2 separate regions of the Homo sapiens genome follow, and region 1 is linked to region 2. The links are contacts of gene promoters, found by promoter capture Hi-C in blood cells and fetal thymus (Javierre and others, 2016). All regions are on one chromosome and are shown on one strand. Each heading gives the region's core, a stretch centred on a gene start or on the middle of the fragment in contact. The rest is flanking DNA. Distances are from core to core; before and after follow the strand shown.

What was found. The method cuts DNA at HindIII sites, captures the fragments that hold promoters and counts their contacts. A CHiCAGO score of 5 or more calls a contact.
Region 1: a fragment that was not itself captured here is called in contact with the fragment with the promoter of PLCG1 in region 2 in 12 of 17 cell types (activated CD4 T cells, naive CD8 T cells, non-activated CD4 T cells and 9 more); the score reaches 17.7 in activated CD4 T cells.

Annotation. Positions count from the first base shown.
Region 1 is chr20:40,972,339-40,975,855 of GRCh38, reverse strand. No RefSeq gene overlaps it. Among named protein-coding and RNA genes, the nearest start is that of TOP1, 55 kb to the left of the region's middle. The HindIII fragment of the contact is 3,198 bases long and covers 631-3,517 here.
Region 2 is chr20:41,135,389-41,138,792 of GRCh38, reverse strand. PLCG1 (phospholipase C gamma 1) reads right to left here and starts at 1,250. Exons shown (of 32, transcript NM_002660.3): 1 at 935-1,250. The coding sequence starts at 1,151. It overlaps LOC124904903 (translation initiation factor IF-2-like), which reads left to right and starts at 1,280. Exons shown (of 2, transcript XM_047440629.1): 1 at 1,280-3,091. The coding sequence starts at 1,454. The coding sequence ends at 2,035. It overlaps PLCG1-AS1 (PLCG1 antisense RNA 1), which reads left to right and starts at 793. Exons shown (of 7, transcript NR_109889.1): 1 at 793-1,079; 2 at 2,982-3,091. RefSeq lists enhancers at 133-212, 361-460, 382-1,166, 1,951-2,735 and silencers at 611-870, 991-1,980. The HindIII fragment of the contact is 8,103 bases long and covers 1-2,292 here.

The sequences.
Region 1 (3,517 bases), core at 980-3,479, 160 kb after region 2:
TGAATGGACAAGTAATGAGTAATGAAATAGAAGCTGTAGTAAAAAGTCTCCCAGCACAGAAAATCCTGGGACCAGATGGCTTCACTGCTAAATTCTACAAAACATTTAAAGAAGAACTAATACCAATCCTACTCAAACTCTTCCAAAAAATAGAGGAGGGAGGAATACTTCCAAACTTATTCTATGTGGCCAGAATTACCCTGATAGCAAAACCAGACAAAGACACATCAAAACAAACAAACAAACAACAACAACAAAAAACAAAAACTACAGGCCAATATCCCTGATGAATTTTAATGCAAAAATCCTCAACAAAATACTAGCAACCAAAATTGAACAACACATTAAAAAGATCATTCCTTATGACTAAGTAGGATTTATCCCAGTGATGCAAAGATGGTTGAACATATGCAAATAAATCAATGTGGTACATCATGTCACAGAATGAAGGACAAAAATCATAAGATCATTTCAATTGATGCTGAAAAAGCATTTGATAAAATTCAACAGCCCTTCATGATAAAAACCCTCAAAAAACCTGGGTATAGAAGGACATACCTCAACATAATAAAACCCATATACAACAGACCCATAGCTAGTACCATACTGAATGGGGAAAAACTGAAAGCTTTTCCTCTAGGATCTGAAGCACTACAAGGATGGCCACTTTCATCACTGTTATTCAACATAGTACTGGAAATCCTATCTAGAACAATCAGACAGGAGAAAGAAATAAAGGGCATCGAAATTGGAAAGAAAGAATTCAGATTATCTTTGTTTTCAGATTATATAATCTTTATATTTGAAAAAATCCAATGACTCCACCAAAAAATTATTAGAACTGATAAACAAATTCAATAAGGCTGCAGGATACAAAAACAACATACCAAAGTCAGTACCATTTCTATTTGCCAACAGCGAACAACCTGAAAAAGAATTCAAGAAATTAATCCCATTTACAATTGCCACGAATAAAATAAAATACCTGGGAATTAACTTAACCAAAGAGGTGAAAGATCTCTACAATTAAAATGATAAAACAGTGGTGAAAGAAACTGAAGAGGACACAAGGAAATGGAAAGATATTTCATATTCATGGATTAGAAGAATCAATATTGTTAAAATGTCCTTACTACCCAAAGGAATCTACAGATTCAATGCAATCCCTATCAAAACACCAATGACATTCTTCACAGAAATAGAATAAACAATCCTAAAATTTATATGGAACCACAAAAGACCCAGAATAGCCAAAGCGATCCTGAGCGAAAAGAACAAAACTGGAAGAATCACATTACCTGCCTTCAAATTATATTACATAGCTATAGGAACCAAAACAGCATAGTACTGGCATAAAAACAGACACATGCACTAGTAGAGCAGAATAGAGAACTCCCGAATGAATCCATATATCTAGGGTGAACTCATTTTTGGCAAAGGTACCAATAACATACATTGGGGAAAGGACATTCTCTTCAATAAATGGTGCTGGGAAAAGTGGATATCCACATGCAGGAGAATGATACTAGACTCCTATCTTTCACCACATAGAAAAATCAAATCCAAATTGATTAAAGACTTAAATGTAAGACCTCAAACTATGAAACCACAAAAAGAAAACACTGAGGAAACCCTCCAGGACATTGGAGAGGTAAAGGATTTCTTGAGTAATAATAACCCACAAGCACAGGCAACTAAAGCAAAAATGGACAAATGGGATCACACCAAGTTAAAAAAAACTTCTACACAGCAAAGGAAACAATCAACAAGTGAAGAGAAACCCACAGAATCACAGAATCATAGAATCCCATAGAATCATAGACAACCCATAGAATCATAGAATCACAGAATGAAGGACAAAAATCATAAGATCATTTCAATTGATGCTGAAAAACCATTTGATAAAATTCAACAGCCTTCATGATAAAAAAAACCCTCAAAAAACCTCCCATAGAATGGGAGAAAATATTGGCAAACTACCCATCTGACAAGGGACTAATAACAGAATATATAAGGAGCTCAAATAACTCTATAGGAAAAAACCTAATAATTCTATTAAAAATGGGCAAAATATCTGAATAGACATTTCCCAAATGAAGACATATAAATAGCACACAGGTATATGAAAAGGTGCTCAAAGTCATTGATCATTAGAGAAATGCCAATCAAAACTACAATGAGTTATCATGTCACCCCAGTTAAAATGGCTTTTATCCCAAAGACAGGGAATAACAAATGCTGGTGAGGATGTGGAGAAAAGGGAACTCTTGTACACTGCTGGTGGGAATGTTAATTAGTACAACCACTATGGAGAACAAGTTGGAGGTTCCTCAAAAAACTAAAAATAGAGCTACCGTACAATCCAGCAATCCCACTGCTGGGTATATACCCAAAACAAAGGAAATCAGTATATCAAAGAGATATTTGCACTCTCATGTTTACTGCAGCACTATTCACAATAGTCAAGATTTGGAAGCAATCCATCAACAGATGAGTGGATAAAGAAAATGTGGTGCATATACACAATGGAATACTATTCAGTCATAAAAAGAATGGTATCCTGTCATTTGCAACAACATGGTTGGAACTGGAAGTCATTATGTTAAGTGAAATAAGCTAGGCACAGAAAGACAAACTTCGGGCTAGGTGCGGTGGCTCATGCCTGTAATCCCAGCACTTTGGAAGGCCGAGGCTTCCAAAGTGGATCATTTGGATCATTTGAGGTTAAGAGTTCAAGACCAGCCTGGGCAACATGGTGAAACCCCATCTCTACTAAAAATAAAAAAAAACTAGTTGGGTTCAGGAGCGCGTGCCTGTAATCCCAGCTACTCTGGAGGCTGAGGCAGGAGAACCGCTGAAGCCTGGGAGGCGGAGGTTGCAGTGAGCCAAGATTATGCCATTGTACTCCAGCCTGGCAACACAGTGAGAGACTCTGCTGCAAAAAAAAAAAAAAAAAAAAAAAAAAAAAAGACTGCATGTTTTTGCTTATTTGTAGGAGCTAAACATTAAGATGATTGAATTCATGGAGACACAGAGTAGAAGGATGGTTAATGGGTACAAAAAATTAGGAAGAATGAATAAGACCTACTATTTGCTAGCACAACAGGGTGACTATCATAAAAAATAGTTGTACATTTAAAAATAACTAAAAGAGTAATTGGATTGTTTGTAACACAAAGGATAAACGCTTGAGGTGATGGATACTCCATTTACCCTGATCTGACGATTACACATTGTGTGCCTCTATCAAAATATCTCTGTAAGCCACAAATATTAATATATACACTTATGGCCCGGTGCAGTGGCTCACGCCTGTAATCCCAGCACTTTGAGAGGCCAAGGCAGGAGCATTACGTGAGCCCAGGAGTTCGAGACCAGCCTGCAATATAGTGAGACCTTGTCTCTACACAAAAAAACCTTAAAAAATAAGCTGGGCATGGTGGTGTGCACCTGTGGTCCCAGCTTGGGAGCTTTGGCAGGAGGATCCCTTAAGCCCAGGAGGCAGAGGTTGCAGCGA
Region 2 (3,404 bases), core at 1-2,500:
CCCACTAGAGACCAGCGCAAAAGCAGCCAAGCTCAGGCCTGGGAAGGCGAAAAGGCAGGAAACTAAGAGAAGCCGCTCCCGCTCCCTGAAGCCACCGGACAGAGGACAAAGGGCTAGACTCACAAACTAGCTGCACTCCTGAGAAGAATACCTGACTCCAAGGCGCTGGGGCAGGCCTTTATGGGGCCCATCTCCTGGGAACGTGCTTCCCAGGGCAAGGGGAGTCCCTGCCCTGGCATTGAGTGTCTGCCCACCCACATAGGCCTCCAAAACCCAGCTTTGGGACAAAAGTAGCAGAAAAAAAAAAAAAAAAATTCCAGCCACTGGCTTCTCTCAGGCTTCTCCAAACCAAACAAGACCACCTTCCTCCCTCTCCCCCAGAGGGAGATGAGTAGGCCCAGCTCTGCTCCAAGACCAGCCCTACCCAACATCTGCCTAAGTTCTACTTAGGGAACCCAAAGATTCCTTTGCAAATAAGAGCCCAGCCTGGGGGCCCGGAGAGTTTCACAGACTGCTCTTTCTGGATAAAGAGTGGGCGGGGACCGTCTGGTCAGGCCCCAGGTTCCCGTGCAGGGTGGGGGCCACTGCCTTAGCTCCCCTCGCCGACGCCGCCACCACTCCCAGGGTCTGGGGGGCCCGATGCCTGCACCGCAGGTCTCCAGCCCGCGAGGATTTTTAGGCCTCAGGGCAAAGCGCCTGGAACACTCCCCCCAGCTGGGGGAGGGGGGGTGTCCTGTCAGGTGACCGAGGACCCGGATGCCCCCCGCCCCCAGTGACCACCCGAGACGAAGCGGGGGCGGGGCCCGGAGGGAGTCTGGGAGGGCCCGAAAGTTTGCCCAAGTCGCTGGGGCGGCCGGCCGGGGTGCAAGCAGTCGGGCCGGGCTCCCACGACCCCCGCGCGGGGCGGGCCCAGGCAGGAAGTGGGCGCACTTACTGGCCCCCTCGATCTTGTCGGCGCCCCGGCTCCACGTGATCTGGCGCGTCTCCAGCTTGACCTGGAAGGTCTTCCGCTCGGGTCGCTGCGACTTCTTGGAGTAGAACAAAGTCATGACGGTGCCCACCTCGAGGCTGCGGCAGAGGTGCAGCACCTCGGCGTCCGAGGGCGCGCCGGGCCCGCAGCCGTTGGCGCAAGGGGACGCGGCGCCCGCCATGGCTCCGACGCTGGGGGCGGCGGCGGCACAGGCCAGGACCGCCCGGGAGCAAGCGCAACGGCGGCGGCTGAGGTTGGGGCTGAGGCTGAGGCGGCAGACGAGCGGGACCCGGCGGCGGCTCCTGCAGGCGGACACGGGGCGGGGCCTCAGCGCGGCGGGGCGGGGCTGCCCTGAGGCCCCACCCCGCTTCGGCGCCGGGAACAAAGGCGCCCGCGCACCCGTGGGGAGGACCCCCGCCCGTCGGCCCGCCGCGCCTGCGCCCCGCGACCCCCAGACAGGCCGCAGGCGGGGACGGAGGCGCGATGGCGGCGGGAGCGCGCGCCGTTCCCGGTCGACCCACCCAGCCCTCAGTCCCGCAGAGCTTTCTCACGCGGCCCCGGACACAGCCCGGCGGCCACGAGCGGCCCTGTCACGCACGGCAGCCCCGCCCACAGGCCGCAGGCCCGGCGGCCGGCGCGTCAGTCAGGCGTACTCGCACGGGCGGCCGCTACCCCGCGGTCCCGCACAGACGCAGCCCCCGCGTCCCGAACACCGCCCATGCAGCGACCGGGACGGGACGTGAGGGGATGGCGCGTCCTCCGGGAATGCCCGGCCAAACTCAGTTACCTGGGCGGGCTTCCCGGACAAGGGAGCCAGGACGGGCCGCCTCACACCGGCGGCGGCGGGTCCTCCGCGCGCCCTCTCCCGGGAGGGGCGGGGGCGGGGCTGCCTGCGGATTGGTCGCGGGCACTGATGGACAGCCGACATGTCCCGCCCCCCCGGCAGCGCGGGGCTGGTCCGCAGGCAGTTCTGGCGACGGCCAGACCCACGTCTGTCTGTTCCGCCCCTGCTGCCAGGGTGGCTTTCAGTGGTCCTCTCTTTCGGAGAGTTCCCCCCAAGCGTGAGCACCCCTTACAGGGGCGTTAGGTCCGCGGCCGCGCTGTCCAGTGGTCTGACCTGCAGCTCCCAGGGCCTTTGTGTCTGTCCCTCGCATGGGCCTCTGCACGCTCCGTCCCCACGCGACAGGACTCGAGTCCGATTCGGGGCTCCGACTCAGACCCTACCCCGCAGCGCCCTCCTGCAAATGCTCTCCTGAACTTTGGTTTTCCCCGCCTTGCTTTCTTCCTCCTCCTGTAGCCGCTGCCTCTCGATCTCAGAAGCTTCTCTTCCTCTGCACTCAGTGCTAGGCCAGATCCCAAGGCGACCTGACCTTTCCCCTGGCTTTGCCCAACAACACAGGCACCGGTGACTCCAAACCTGCATCTCCCCTACGTTCCAGGCCCCAGCATCCCACTGCATGTTCCACATCCCCCCCCCTTAGACAGCTCGCCTTCCCTCCCCAAACGATTCCTTCCACAGTCTTCACTTTCTCAGAACGCGGCGCTAAACTTCTCTAAGTTGGAAGGTCAAAAACCTTGCAGCTAACTTTGATTCCTCCCTTTGCCTCACCTCCAATCCATCAAGACCTTGTCACTCAGCCCACAAGCTGAAGGCCCCATCTCCTGTCACCCAGACTACTCACCTTGTTTGGTTTTGCCTGGATCTATCAGTTTGGTTTTGCCTGGATTTATCATGCTTTAAATCTTTAAAATGAAATTAAATCATGATCCCCTACATCCAGGCTAAAACCCTCCGTGAATTCCCATTGCACCTAAAATCCACACTCCCTGCTTGGCCTAGCAGGTTCTATATGACCTGCCCATCTCACCAGTTTCATCTCTCACAAGTGATCCTTCACTCTCCATTCTCCAGCCACAAGGCCTTTTTCTGGTTATGGAATATAATTCATACTCTTTGTCTTTCTGAAGCCATTCTTGAAACTCACCCCTGCAATCTATCTACCCTTGTCAGCACCGCCAAAATTGAGGACACCCACGGTCGCGGTGGAGCCTGTCTGACATGTTGAGCCAGGCAGTGGGTCGGCTGCCAGGCACAGCAGGACAACTTACTGCATTTCAGAGGTGAGAAGCCCAACAGAGCTTCCAGCTGATGCCAGAGAAAGAGCCAGGCTTCCTGGGAATTGTGAGATAGTAGGACTAGACTAGAGTTTGTAAGAGCGTGTGCTCAGGCAACCCACTCAGCTGGATAGTGACCTGGGGCTGCTGCTTCTGACTTTGTCTTGCTGTAGTGGAAACTTGTGTGTTAACGTTGATTTCCTCAAGTGCGTCCCCTAAGAAGCTCAGAATTCAGCATGACATTGAGACCCTTTGTCCTAGCCAGCCTCTGTGGAGTAAGGAGCGGTGGGGTAGCTGAGATGGACTGCCACCTAGTGGC